5 separate regions of the Homo sapiens genome follow, and regions 2, 3, 4 and 5 are each linked to region 1. Evidence: promoter capture Hi-C in human tissues and cell types (Jung and others, 2019). All regions are on one chromosome and are shown on one strand. Each heading gives the region's core, a stretch centred on a gene start or on the middle of the fragment in contact. The rest is flanking DNA. Distances are from core to core; before and after follow the strand shown. Region 1 holds the start of SYT1 (synaptotagmin 1). Region 2 overlaps SYT1 (synaptotagmin 1). Region 3 has its middle 94 kb from the start of SYT1. Region 4 has its middle 71 kb from the start of SYT1. Region 5 overlaps SYT1 (synaptotagmin 1).

Region 1 (2,910 bases), core at 411-2,910:
AAATGTTTTCCCCTTCAGGATTTTTAAAATTTAGGGTATCTTTCTAGCATTACTTTCTAAACTTAGTTCCAGTACAGGAGGATTCTTGTCCAACTGAGCCTCCATGTGCCTTCTAAAGGGAGTGCTGAAATTGTATAAACATCATGTTTACATCCATTAAATATTGTCCTATTAAAAGAAAATAAAGCCAGGCATAAGTTTGGTATCCAGACAATAAAATGCAAATAGTACAAAGGTAGAATAAAGTGAAAATTCTACACAAATGTAGCTTCCATACAAAAGTTAAACAGTTGCTTTATTTCACGAAAGGGTTAATACTGGAGAAAGTGAATATCAACATGTACACAAAGCTAACTAGAAGATTAGCTTTCTCAAAGTAGAAATCCAAGCCTCCCTATAAAATTGTTGTCCCTTGCAAATGTTTTGAAACTTTACATTTTTTGATCCCCCAACAACAGGCCATACCAAGAAACCTCAGGAAAGTAATAATCTATTTTAATTGTTTTTTTTTTTTTGTTACTCAAGAAAGCTTTCAAAGTTCAGATATTAACACTGATGTGCAATACCAAATTGTTAGCCCCACAGGACAGATGGAAACAGGAAAAGTCAGATGGTTGGCACTCAAAAGCAAAAGCAATTAAGCAGTTGAAAGTGGGTTGGATTGTCGGTTTATTTTTGTTCCATTTGAACGAATCAAGTGAGAGACATAGACTCTTGCAAGGAGGAAATCAAGTCAAACTTGACGCTTCCTCTCTCTGACAGCCCAAGCTGGACTGGTTGTCTACTCCCCTTATTCAGTTTAATTGCTTTATGTGCTCTGATTTTCGCAGAGCTTGTATTCTATCTTGTTTACGTTCCCCCCCCCCCCCATATCCCTCTCCCCAACAGAAAGAAATCTTTCTCCTTTCTTCACTCCCCCTCTTTCCTCTAAGAAAGGCAATCCTCTCCAGGAGGAGAAAGAAACGCTGTGCGTGCTTAGGGTGGGAGGAGGGCGAGAGGGGAGGTGTGGGAGAGAAAGAGAGAAAAGATTGAGATTGGGGGTGGGGGACGGAGGAGAGAGAACAAGAGAAGGAAAGAGGAAGCAAGAAGATGGGGGATGCCCAACATCAACTCCAGGCTCTAAATCACGGGCGCTGTGCAAAGTGCTTTTCCAGGAGATGCACATGTAGTCTCATATTTCTCACAATAGGCCACCCGGGGATCCCTCCCTAGGTCTCAGACTCCCACCACTAAAACCCAAGTGTATCGAGAAGAAAATCTTTGGGATGGATTCGAGCAGATAGGCACCGCCGAGGTGGCCGCGCCGCCAGTCCCGCTTCCTTACCTGGAGGGCGGACCGGGAGGTGGTGCCGGGTCTCGGTCCCCAGTGCTCTCCCCGCGTGGACCGGCGCGAGGCACACGCGTACTCTCGCTGCCTCCGCTCTTGGAGGGGCAGCCTGCAACACAAAAGGGGTGTGTGGGTGTGGGTGTGTGGGAGGTTTTCCAGGGCCACCAGCTGGTCCCACGTGGTCGCCCCCACCCTACACACACCCCTTCGGGGCGCCAAGCCCCCCTCTCGGCTGAGCACCACCCTGGGGACTTGCCCGGGGTGCAGCCTCAAGTTGCCGCTGCTAACTGCTGCTGCCGCTGCCGCTGCTGCAGGAGGAGGTGGAAAGACACTGGGGGCAGTACTCGGTCTAGAGCATCCCCACACTGCAGCTTCTCCAGGAATCCCTCCAGTGAGGAGGCGGCCGCCCATCATCTCCGAGCCCCAGCATCCTGATTGGCTCCACCTCGGGTACGCTGCGCCAAGGAGCCAATCCCCGCGCACTAATAATAGGTGGATCCGTTCAGCCAACATCGCCCATCCCAGTTCTGTTAGTGTCTCTCCATCCCCACAGCGGACAGGGACCTGGGAAGCGGGGTGGAGGCGGGTTGGGGGAGGGGGTGAAGTAAGAGGGGAACAGATCCCAAGGAGACACAATCAAGGGCGTCTGATAAAACCTCTAGGTAGACTCAGGAATGCCCCACAAGCTGTTCAGCAAGCAGTATGCACAGGAGAAAGAGAGCATAATACAAAGCTTTTTTTTTTTTTTTTTTACTCTCAATCAAAACCTACCCTGATACTGAGCATGCCCAGACTGCAACAGCGACCTAGGAGTTTCGATGTGTGTGGGTTCGCCAGCTGTGGGTTTTTGAAAAGCTGGGACCGGGGACAGGAGAGGTAGAAGTTTGTCTTTGGCCATTTAACCCGGCGGAGTTGTGAAAGCTGGGTAGGGTGGGGATGTGAAAGGGTTCCGCACAAGTGTCCTCAAACTGAGCCGCGGGGAGGTGGCCCACCTGGCTGCCGGAGGCTCATCATGCTGTTCTTCTGGGGTTCCGGGTTGGAAGCGGGGGCGGGATAAGCTGAGCTTTGCTGGAAGCCTGGGGACTTCCCGCGAAGGGTGCGGTGGAGCCGAGATGCGGGAGAAGCAGCTCCGTCCCATAGGTGGGGCCGGGAGCGCGACTCCACCCATCAGCGGCGGCTGCCAGGCCGTGGAGAGTGCACTGGGAGTTTCCATTGCAGCGACCAATAAGTTTGTACACTTGGGTCAAGTGCAACATTGTTGGAGATGCTTTTTTATTTTTTCATTTTTATTTTTTGCCACCTCCCTCCCCCATCTCTCTCGACCCCTTGCCAGAGCAGTGACGACTAAAGCATAGATTCTCTCCCTGCTTCCTCTCTTCCCAGCTGAACCGTTCTGCTCGGAAGTAAGAAGCTTTTCTCTTGTGAGGGCGGTGGTGACCTGATTGTCTCTAAGCTCTCAGGCAATTTATAGCTTGGTAATACCGAAATACCGAACAGGAAGGCTCAGCGGGTGGGGGAAGGGACCGCGCGCCAGGCTAGGGGCGGGAGCGGAGCCCAGCTGGGAGAGGGGCCCGTCCATTATC
Region 2 (2,910 bases), core at 263-2,762, 90 kb before region 1:
TAATTTTATCTTTTAACTACATTTTCCATAAGCTTTTTGAAACTCCCTTATATATACGGAGTCAAATCTCAATAAATATTACAGAGTAATTGGCTACTAAAATACAGAACCTCTGCACAAATGTCATTATTTTTGACAATAAACACTTTTTTTTTTTCATTTTTGATGCCTATTTTAAGTTTAAAATGATTTTCATCATTGTTTCAGGTGTTTGGGCCACATTCCTGAAACACGTTAAAACCTCCTCAAGTTTTCTTTCTAGCAGGGGTAGGGAGAGAGATATTAACTCAGTTAACCATCAAGACAATTTAATGAAATAGATGCTACTGTTTCCCCAATTTTACCCATGAGGAAACTGAGGCTCAGGGAAGTTAAACAAATTGCCCATCATGGAAAAAAAAAGGAGAAGAGCTAGGATTCAAACTCAATAAGTGTGTCTCCAGATTATTTGTCTGTGTTTTATATTAATATCTTATGTTAAAATGTTCCAGGTATTTCTCAGACTGTTATTGCACTTTTGTGAAATATTTATTAAATGCACATTCTGCCCCCCCATACCAGTCATTCTGTCAATGTTGGTACTCCATTATTACTAAGATACTCTCTCCCAAATTACTACATACCACATTTCCATTCAAAAAGTATCTGTGTTCAATAGAGAAGTAAAGCACCCTCATACTGCACCTTCATTGCAGTATTTTTTCATATTATAGAAGTTTCCATCCTTACCCACACACCTTGACCTCTTTTATCACCCCATTCCACACAGATCAACTCATTTATTTTCAGCCAAAGAAAAATATTAAACTACGAGTTTGAACTTGAAATTTCAAAAGATAGGGGAAAATGCAATTGATAGTGCAGACATTGCATTTGAGTGCTTCTCTCTCTCTCTCTCTCTACATGCACACACACACACACACACACACACACACACACACACAAATATCTTGGCAGAAAATAAAACGCATGGACCCAGAAAACTGTTAGGTTAAGGGCAAAAAAAAAAGTTTCTTTCTGGTCCTTATAAAGCTTGTAGTTCAATGACACTAAAACCAATTGCTGTGGTTTGAATGTTGTGTCTCCAAAAATGGCATTAAGAGGTGGGCCTTTGGGGGGGCTCTGCCCTCATGAATGGAATTAGTGCCTTTATAAAAGAGGCCAAGAAGCTTGCTTACCCCTTCTGTGGTGGGAAGACATATAGAAGTTACCACCATAAGGAATGGGCTCTCACCAGACAGAATCTGCCAGGGCCTTGATCCAGGAGTTTCCAGCTTCCAGAACTGTAAGTAATACATTTCTGTTATTTATAAATTACCCGGTCTAAGGTATTTTGTTATAATGACCCAAATGGTCTAACATACCAACTAAAAATCTATGTGACAAGTAAGCATATGCTTTTCCCTGAGGCACAACTGGTGTTATGGCATTCAAGATCTATGGACAAAACCTGAATGTGTGTTTGAAAATCGATCAAGCAACGCTTTTCTTGTCTTCTGAATTTTGATCCAGTTGATCATTCAGATATCACCTGAATATAACATGTTGTACAAAACCAAACAGAACTGTTGAATTATTAGAAACTCTGTTTAACCGTCATTTCAAAATGAAACGGCATTAATGACATCAAAAAATTCTTTTATAGGAGAAATAATTTAAAAACCAGAAATGTGAAATTAAAAGACAGAAAAGCAAATCTCAAAAGGCACATGAACTCAGCAGATGGATTTACACAGTTTTCTCATCTTCAAACTTCAGAAAAAGATTTTGATTATCTCCCTTGAAAACTGTTGTTATCATTAAAATAAAAATTCCATCATCACTTCCCTTTCACTTAGTATTCAGGATAATCACAAGCTCAAAAATAGAATTTAAATTTCTGACTAATAGTGCAATAAAAGAGTAGAGAAATATAATGCAGGCAATATGCATTTGTTTAAGTACATTTTAGCAAATGGCTCCTTTAGATCTAGCATTTATTATTTTACACAGATAGATGAGTTACATATTTTATTTTTCCCTCATGTGCTAATATTCAACAAAGTTCTAAATGAAAAATACTTCTATTTAAAGTTATTCATCATAGTATACCATTATTGAAAACAAATCTGTAGGGTAAATATCATATGCACAACAAACTGATGAAGCTTAAATTAGCTCAATATTAAAAAGATATTTACATATATTTTTCTTTCTCTCTTTCTCTCTCTCTCTCTGATGTTCCATGTATATTTTTATTATAAGAAAAGCTACACAGGGTACCACATAGGATCATTCTGAAGACTGTCACTTAATACCTGCTATCATTTTGGTAATTTAAAAAATTACTATATATTCAAATATAAAAGTTATGTTAATAAGTAAAAAGTGGAAAAAAATCAAATACCTGCTCCTCAAGTCAGAGAACACAAATAATAGATGATAATGTTTGAGTTAATTGTGAGGCTGTAATTTGCAGCAGATTTATTTTCATGGTCAAGGTGACTTCTGGATATACTGAGTGAATCCTTACACAAAACTATACCAAAAAGAAAACATGTGTCAACCCTGTGGGTGGAGGTGACATGCAATTTAAAATGTTTAATTACACATTTCACCTTAGCTAAACATCCTGAAAGATGACATGATCTAATTGGAGATTAATGCATTATTTCTCTAAGGCCACAAATGAAGTAGCAGCTAGAGAAAGTATCTCTCTGATTCTCTAAGTAGTCCAAGAATTCTATGAAGTGCCTTTGTTCACCATGTGAATCTGAATAATTTGCCTTAATATCACTGACCCTATAAAAACAACTGAAATGTTAGTAGACATATAAATATCATTGAGGATTTTTAAAAAAAATATTTGGATAGTTTTAAAAAGCAACCCTGGCTAAGGGCCCAAAGCAAACCAGTTTAGTGCTAATAACA
Region 3 (2,910 bases), core at 104-2,603, 94 kb after region 1:
ATGTTGGAAATGCTGCTGAGGTGTCTGGAATGTACTGGGTAAGGTACCAAAGAGGAGACAGCTGGACAGAGAGATGGACACAGAACTCTGATAGAGGTCCCTTTATGTACTTGGCTGAGAGCTGTGGAGAATATGCACAAAGAAGGAAAAATAAAACACACACACACCATTCTGGCAAGTCAAAAATAATTATCTCTCCTAAATATATGGATTTTCTTTTAGCATTATTGATACTGTGTTCACTGTTCTTCTTTCCTCTGTTTACTAGGAGTCTCATAGACAAATTTGTGGCTTATCAATTTGTGTAATTGATAAAGTAGTGTTACAGTAATTGATTTGTCCAAATAAACAAAATATGATATTCTTTAAGGAAGACAACATTCAGATTCTCTACAGCACATCAACCACAGTGTCCAGAATATAATTTAAAACAAATAATATTAGAAGTATAAAGAAACAAGAGTATGTGGCCAGAAATGAAGGTGACAGTTAATAAAAACAGACCTTCAGGATGACCTAGATGCTGGAATTAGCAGACAAAGACTTCACTGTAACTAGTAGTAATATGTTCAGTGATTTACATAAAAGATATAAATAATTAATATATAGAAAATCTCAATAGAGAAATAGGAAACAAGAACCAAATGAAAATTTTAATACTAAAATTATAATATCTGACAATTTTAAAATGTTCTAAATGAATATAACAACAAACTTGAGACTAAAAAATAAAAGGTCAGAATTCAAAGACAAACAAAAATAATTCCATGACAAGATCTGAGGAAAGAAAGGTTGAAAAACAAAGGAATACAGCTTCAGTAACCATAAGGCAATATCAGCCAGTTTACCATTGCATGCTGGAGTCCAAGAAAGAAAATAGAGAGAGAATGGGAAAGAAAAATATATTCGAAGAAATAATATCAGAAATTTCTCTAATTTCAGGGCAAAATATCAACTTGTAGATAAATAAGCTTGGTGAACTCTAAGAAGGATAAATACAAAGAAAACCACACATACTGTATCTTAGTCCATTTTTGAAAATTAAGTATAAAGGAAAACATACATCAAATATAGAAAAATATGAATATCATGACAGCAGACTTTTCATTGGTAGGAAAAATGGAGGCTAGAAGATAGTGGAGTGATATTGTCTATGTAATATCATTATGTGATGATATCTTTAAAGTGCTGGAACAAAAATACTAACAAAACAGTCAAAACCCCAAAATGTTGTATGTACTATAACAACATATAACAACATATAACATATATACAACAACATATAACAAAATGTTGTATGTATATCTCTCAAAGATGAGGATGAAAATTAAAATTTCCAGATAAACAAAAGATGAGAAAATTAGTTACTAATGAATATACACTTCAAAATATGCTAAAGAAAATATTTTAGACTGAAAGTTACTGATACCAGATAGAATTTCAGATCTGCAGGAAGAATGAAGACCACCAGAGTGGCAAATATGTGGGTAAATATGAAGGAATATATATTTTTTCTTCTCTTGATTTCTTCAAAAGTCAATTGACTAAAAAATAAAAAGGGTATTATTGTAAAGTTTGTAAACTTTGTAGAGGTAAATCATAACAACAACATAAAGAAGAGAATAGAGTAATTGGAACTACACTATTGTAAGTTTCATTTTATTTTGAAAATGACAGATTGTATATTTTCTGTGAACAACGTGATATTTTGAAAAATGTATACATTGGGGAATGGCTAAGTCAAGCTAATTAAAATATACATTACCTCACATAGTTATAATTTTTGTGGTGAGAACATAAGACCTCCCTTAAAATTTTTTGAGATTACAATACATAATTTAAAAAATTGGAATACAAAATATAATACATTGTTCTTAACTATAGTCACCATGCTGTACAATAAATCTCTTGAACTTACTCCTTCTATCTTCCTGAAACTTTGTAACTTTTGACTAACATCTTCCAAACCTCCTCTCCCACCACCATCCAAATCCCTGTTAATCACCATTCTACTCTCTACCTCTATGAGTTCTACTTTTTTAGAATCAACATACATGTGAAATCATACAATATTTGTTTTTCTCTGTCTGGCTTATTTCACTTGACATAATGTCCTCCAGGTTCATCATTGCTGCCCCAAATGAGAGAATTTTCTTTTTCTTAGCTGAATAGTATTCCATTGTGTATGTATACCATATTTTCTTCATTCATCTGTTGATGGATATTTTAGGTTGATTCCATATGTTGGCTATTGTGAATAATGCTGCAACAAACATGGGAGTGCAGATATATCCACAACATGATTATTTTATTTCCTTTGGATAAATACCCATATGGGATTGCCGGATTATATGTTAGTTCTAATTTTGGTTTATTGAGGAACTTCCATATTGTTTTCCATAATGACTGTGTTAATTTATATTCTCACCAACAGTGTGCATGAATTCCCATTTCTTCGCATTTTCTCCAACATTTATCTTTTGTCTTTTAGATAATAGCTGTTCTACCTGGAGAAAGGTGATATTTCATTATGGTTTTAATTTCTATTTTCCTGACGATGAGCATTTTTTCCAAATACCTGCTGGACATTTGTGTATCCTCTTTTGAAAAATCTGTTCAGGACCTTTGCCCATTTTAAAATCAGATTGTTTTCTTGCTATTGAATTGAGTTTTTTCTATATTTTGCATATTAACCACTTATCATATGTACGGCTTGTATTTTCTCGCATTGTGTAGGCTGTCTTTTCACTCAGTTGATTGTTTCCTTTGCTGTGCAGAAGCTTTTTAGTTCAATGTAATTCCATTTGTCTATTTTTGCTTTTGTTGCCTGTGTTTTTGGGGTCATATCCAAAAAAATCATTGCCTAGACACATGTCACGGAGCTTTTCAGCTATGTTTTATTCTAATAGA
Region 4 (2,910 bases), core at 177-2,676, 71 kb after region 1:
ACAAACAGTAAGGTTGCTGCTTCTTTGCTTCTTTTTCTTTTCTTTTCTTTTTCTTTTTTTTTTGAGACGGAGTCTTGCTCTGTCACCCAGGCTGGAGTGCAGTGGCTCGATCTTGGCTCACTGCAAGCTCTGCCTCCCGGGTTCACGCCATTCTCCTGTCTCAGCCTCCTGAGTAGCTAGAACTACAGGTGCCCGCCACCATGCCCAGCTAATTTTTTGTATTTTTTAGTAGAGACGGGGTTTCACCATGTTAGCCAGGATGGTCTCGATCTCCTGACCTCGTGATCCGCCCACCTCGGCCTCCCAAAGTGCTGGGATTACAGGCGTGAGCCACCGCACCCGGCCCTTTTTTTTCCCCTTTAATTAATCATGGGTTCACTGGGGTAGCACTTTTAATTTCTTTCAATAATCTTTTCTCTGCATTTACAACTTGGCCAACTGTTTGGTGCAAGAGGCCTAGCTTTTGGCCTATCTTGGCTTTTGACATGCCTTCCTGATTAAGTTGAATCATGTCTAGCTTCTGATTTAAAGGAAGATGAATAACTCTTTCCTTCACTTGAACACTTAGAAGCACTTGAAGGATTATTGCTTGGCCTTTTCAATATATTGTTTTCTGTCGGGATAAGGACTGATATCTAACTGAGATGCAAAATTTTTAAGCACAGTTGAGCACAATGACTTAGGCGGTCTCATGCAAGGTATGCTCAGTTTCTGCAAAATAATAATAAAAAAGAATATTTTTCCATTTTACTTCCTTTCTCGGTAATCAACATAGCATCCTGATTTATAGGGGAAAAGATGTGGTCAAACCCACAGGTAACTGATACAGAAGTCATTTGCAAAAGCCTGCTGAAACCCAAGGCCTTTCCACCACCACCCCTGCTTCCCCAGAAGAGAATGCCATGGTTTGGTTGCTTATGTCCATTATCCCATTATTTTTGTTCAACTCTTGATTGTTGCTCTATGTTAGAGGATGTGTAATAAACGGTCTTGCTGCTTACTAAGATTTTTGCCTTGTAGGAGAAAAAAATAAGACAAGAGCCTAATTACTCTTTTTGTGTGATTCCAAATGCTCCAACAGGCTACTCTTGTATTTATCGTCCTTTCCATATCTCAGGATTCAACTTTTTAGGACCTTGCTATTCAAAGTGGGGTACATCAGCAGCAACATTGAGATCACCTGGCAGTTTGTTAGAAACAATGAATCTCAGATACACTTTAGACCCATGGAATAAACATCTGCGTTTAATAATATATCCTAGTGAATCTCATGCACGTCAATATTTGAAAAGCACTACATTAGGAGACAGAACTATCTGGGTATGAATTCTGGTATTACCTCTTAAAAGCTTTGTGACCTTGGCCGACTGAGGATCATATTCATCATAGGTGAAATAGAAATAATAAAGACTCCTCCTTCGACTGCTCCCAGTGCGGGGCCTCGCAGGCGACGTGGGCCGAGCACCCGCTGCTTCCGGAGCCCTCGGGGCGGCGGACTGGCTCACGGTGCAGATTCTTCCTAACCTGTTGGTGAGAACTACAACACAAGATGGCCGCAAATAAGCCCAAGGGTCAGAATAATTTGGCCTTACACAAAGTCATCACGGTGGGCAGTGCCGGTGTGGGCAAGGCAGCTCTGACTCTACAGTTCATGTACGATCAAAGAAGGCACCTATCGGAAGAGAGTAGTACTGGATGGCGAGGAAGTACAGATCGGTATCTTAGAAACAGCTGGGCAGGAGGACTATGCTGCAATTAGGGACAACTATTTCCGAAGCAGAGAGGGGTTTCTCTGTGTCTTCTCTATTACAGAAATGGAATCCTTTGCAGCTACAGCTGACTTCAGGGAGCAGATTTTAAGAGTAAAAGAAGATGAGAATGTTCCATTTCTACTGGTTGGTAACAAATCAGATTTAGAAGATAAAAGGCCGGTTTCTGTAAAAGAGGCAAAAAACAGAGCTGACCAGTGGAATGTTAACTATGTGGAAACATCTGCTAAAACACAGCTAATGTTGACAAGGTACTTTTTGATTTAATGAGAGAAATTCGAGCAAAAAAGATGGAAGACAGCAAAGAAAAGAATGGAAAAAAGAAGAGGAAAAGTTCAGCCAAGAGAATCAGAGAAAGGTGCTGCATTTTATAATCAAAGTCCAAATTCCTTTCTTATCTTGACCATACTAATAAATATAATTTATAAGCATTGCCATTGAAGGCTCAATTACTGAAATTACTTTAACATTTTGGAAATTGTTGTATATCACTAAAAGCATGAATTGGAACTGCAATAAAAGTCAAATTTACTTAAAAAAGAAATAAATGTGGCTTTACCAAGAGGCAAAGTTCAACTTATTTCATTATTGCCTACATTTATCATCGTCCTGAATGTAGCATATGAGCTTGCTTTTCTCAGGCAGTCTTTCTTGAAATGTTAAAGAGGTGAGATGGGGGTGGGGAATGGGAGGAAAGGTGACTTTCTCTCGTGTTTTTTTAAATAAAGCTTAAATTTTATATCATTTTAAAATATATTGGTCTTCTACTACCTTGAAAAATGACAATTGTGAACATGATAAACTGTACCACTTTTTTTTAAACCATCGTTATGCAAAATTTAGAAGAAAAAGTTATTGGTATGGTTGTTGCATGTAGTTAAACTGAGAGTAATTCATCTGTGAATCTGATTTAATTACCTGTTGAGTAATTTAGAAAAGTGCTGTAAATGTGTACATGGAAATTTTTGAATATACCTTAATTTAGAAACTGAAAAACACCCAGTTATATCATTCTGGATGTGTTCTTGCTGACACCAGGGTTCCACTGCCCCATGTGTCATGGTGAGAAAATATATGCCCAGCATGGAGTACTGCTTTTGTATAAAAGATCCTTGAGAAGTAACTGGCTGCTAGGACTCTG
Region 5 (2,910 bases), core at 129-2,628, 69 kb before region 1:
TTCATATCCATTCTTGTATATTCACATTCCTTTTTGGAGGGTCTTACTTCTGTTCTGTTCTATAACTTAGTATATAGCCTTTCTTCTGATGAATTGTTATTTTTACCAAAGCAGTAAAATGTCGTTTGCTGAAAACATGAACCATGCCTATATTGTAGCCACAGGGCCTAGCATACTGCCTGATTCACAGCAGGAGCTCAAAATTTATTAATTGAATAAATGATTAATTGAAACAACGAGACCCAGAACTAACCTCTCAGAACCTTCACAGCAGAGTGTCTGCTTTGAAGTTAAGAGCAACCTTCATGGAAAATGCAATCAGTGCTACCGAGGGGACGGGATGTCTCTGCAGCCATCTCCAGACACCTACTTGCTTCCTATGGTTGCCCACCTGTCCAAAGACAGATTCAAAATTCTCTAGGTCAAGGATGTACCATCCTCACAGTTTAAATCTTTTAAATTATAAAATTTCAATTTTAGTCTTTTCCATGTTTTTGCATTTCATTCATTGGAAATGAATTCAGCCAATTATAGACTCGGGCGAGGCATGATTTCCGTGGAGCACGAGACGAGATCTGGGCTTTGGTTATTTTATACCTCAGTTACCAACATGTAATACCTTTTCTCTAAGGGCAGAAAGCACGATCTGCTTGAATTCCTAAATTCAAGATTTCATCTACCCGCAGAGAATGTGGAGGCCGTGCAGCCATCACCATGCTTCTAATACTTTCTAAAGACAAAAATTATATGCCACATTCTTTAGAGAGAGCCTTGACTTATTTGTGTAGTAAATTTCAGTGTATCTTTTCAAAAAAATGTTCAGATTTTATTTCAATATAAATATTTTGCTCCAGATTTTCCACTTCAACTTCTTTCTTTTTCTATATTCCACATAGAAAATTAATCTAGTTTTTGACTGCGTGACAGGTGTTTTCAATTCCGGACATGATGTAAGACAAGTGTTTTTTCTGTTGTTGTTATTTCGTTTTATTTGTTTGTTTTTTGAGACAGAGTCTTGCTCTATTATCCAGGCTAAAGTGCAATGGCACAATCATGGCTCACTGCAGCCTCAACCCCACAGGCTCAGGTGATCCTCCCATCTCAGCTTCCTGGGTAGCTGAGACTACAGATGTGCACCACCACACCTGGCTAATTGTTTTGTTTTGTTTGTTTGTTTGTTTTTGTAGAGATAGGTTTTTGCCCTGTTGCCCAGGCTGGTCTTGAACTCCTTGACTCAAGTGATTCACCCTGTGATTCAATTATCTCCACCTGGCCCTGTCCTTGACACATGACGGTTATTCAAGGTGAGATTTGGATGGGGACACAGCCAGACCATATCAACAGGTATGGTGTGTGTGTGTGTGTGTATGTGTGTGTGTGTACACACGCACATACACACACACACATATATACACACACATATGTATATACACACATATATATATGTAAAAACAGTGTATATAGGGTTTACTACTATCTGTGGTTCAGGCATCCATTGGGGGTCTTGGAACATATCCCCCTGAATAAAGGGAATAACTGTATTGACCAAAAAGACATATAAACTGCATCCCTTAAATACAGAACATTATACTCAATTTCTCCTACTGAGATTCCTATGTTTCTGGAAATAACCAAACAGACAAACACACAAAGCAGGCATGTTCCCTTAAATTTTAATGTTATCGGATTCTACCCCATCTCAATCTCTCTTTCACTTTTCTCTCACTCTTTATTTCTCTCTTGATGAGGTAAAACAAGGATTTATTAAAAAAATTGGCCTGTAGAATTTATGCTAATATCTGTGATGGAAGTTTATGATGAATTATCAAAAATTATTAAACTAATGCTAAAACAGTATCCAAGGTGATCTGAAACATAAAGTTGAGTGCACCTGACATATATCTCTATCTTTTAAATGAGATGGTTATTAATAAACTGTACTAGCAAAATACTAATTTTTTAAATGGTCTTGAACTTGACAAGTAGAGTGAAAAGAAATGGGACCTTGAGAAACAGGACCTTAAGAAATAGAACATTACATTTAAGCCAAAATCAAATTATTTTTACTACTAAATTCAAGAATATAGAAGCCATAACAATGATTTTCCTGGGTTACTCTTATATTGATAATATATGCTAAAATGTTTATTTAGTAAGTTCTAGCTCCTTTTTTGACCTCTTCACTTTCCCACCGCAAACTTTTGTCTTCCTTCCTCTGGTAAGAGTTTCTTAGAGGCTCTATAACTCAGCCAAATTCATTTTAGACAAGACAGGCTCACAGAAGTTGATACACTGAGGTCAAGATTGCCCTGGTATTAGTCACACAGATTCATCTAACCATATGCAGACCAACATGGTAGAAAGCAAGATGATAAAGAGAGATGAGGAAATATCTATGCCCTAGATATTTCTTCACAGGTGCACTCTTTCAAAGTCGAGAAGAGTAAGTTAAAAATATTACTCAACTTGACTGCTTAGAGGCTTTCTTCAAAATCAAACAAATATTTCCAAGGATACCAGGAGTGATGTCCAATAACCTTTATACTTTTGGACGTCTTAAGGTGATATAAATTTGCTTTTTTAGAACTTAGTTTTTTTGCATGAAAGTAAGACGTTCTGAGATTTTGTGTTTGAGACAAGATATAAGAATTTATGCGCCTATAATTGAAATGATGAAACAAAATGAATAATTATTTTAATACAAGAACTGACTTAGTAGAATGGACTCCCTCTTATCCAAGTGAATAAAATATTTGCATAATACTATATAAGCTTTGATTTTTATTGGTACAAATTGACAAGAGTTAAATGAGTTCTCGAAGAGTTTGCATATTGTTCCCTGAAGGCAATTGAAAATAAAATTACAAGGAGAGTCAGATAAAAAATAAATGATGGCAAAAAATTTAAATA

What was found. The method cuts DNA at HindIII sites, captures the fragments that hold promoters and counts their contacts. A contact is called where the count stands out against the background at its distance.
Region 2: a fragment that was not itself captured here is called in contact with the fragment with the promoter of SYT1 in region 1 in 4 of the 25 tissues and cell types used here (dorsolateral prefrontal cortex, liver, lymphoblastoid cells and 1 more).
Region 3: a fragment that was not itself captured here is called in contact with the fragment with the promoter of SYT1 in region 1 in 2 of the 25 tissues and cell types used here (hippocampus and lymphoblastoid cells).
Region 4: a contact is called between a fragment that was not itself captured here and the fragment with the promoter of SYT1 in region 1, in 4 of the 25 tissues and cell types used here (adrenal gland, mesenchymal stem cells, spleen and 1 more).
Region 5: a fragment that was not itself captured here is called in contact with the fragment with the promoter of SYT1 in region 1 in 4 of the 25 tissues and cell types used here (dorsolateral prefrontal cortex, hippocampus, mesendoderm cells and 1 more).

What each region holds. Positions count from the first base shown.
Region 1 is chr12:78,863,524-78,866,433 of GRCh38, reverse strand. SYT1 (synaptotagmin 1) reads right to left here and starts at 1,660. Exons shown (of 11, transcript NM_005639.3): 1 at 1,325-1,660. RefSeq lists a silencer at 2,817-2,876. The HindIII fragment of the contact is 3,235 bases long and covers 1,296-2,910 here.
Region 2 is chr12:78,953,835-78,956,744 of GRCh38, reverse strand. All of the region lies in intron 1 of SYT1 (synaptotagmin 1), which reads right to left. The region is part of intron 5 of LOC105369863 (a long non-coding RNA gene); the gene reads left to right. Among named protein-coding and RNA genes, the nearest start is that of SYT1, 91 kb to the right of the region's middle. The HindIII fragment of the contact is 3,775 bases long and covers 1-2,910 here.
Region 3 is chr12:78,768,961-78,771,870 of GRCh38, reverse strand. No RefSeq gene overlaps it. Among named protein-coding and RNA genes, the nearest start is that of SYT1, 94 kb to the left of the region's middle. The HindIII fragment of the contact is 6,830 bases long and covers 1-2,910 here.
Region 4 is chr12:78,792,754-78,795,663 of GRCh38, reverse strand. It overlaps the pseudogene LOC642550. Among named protein-coding and RNA genes, the nearest start is that of SYT1, 71 kb to the left of the region's middle. RefSeq lists an enhancer at 1,078-2,277. The HindIII fragment of the contact is 4,145 bases long and covers 1-2,910 here.
Region 5 is chr12:78,932,631-78,935,540 of GRCh38, reverse strand. All of the region lies in intron 1 of SYT1 (synaptotagmin 1), which reads right to left. All of the region lies in intron 6 of LOC105369863 (a long non-coding RNA gene), which reads left to right. Among named protein-coding and RNA genes, the nearest start is that of SYT1, 69 kb to the right of the region's middle. The HindIII fragment of the contact is 4,770 bases long and covers 1-2,910 here.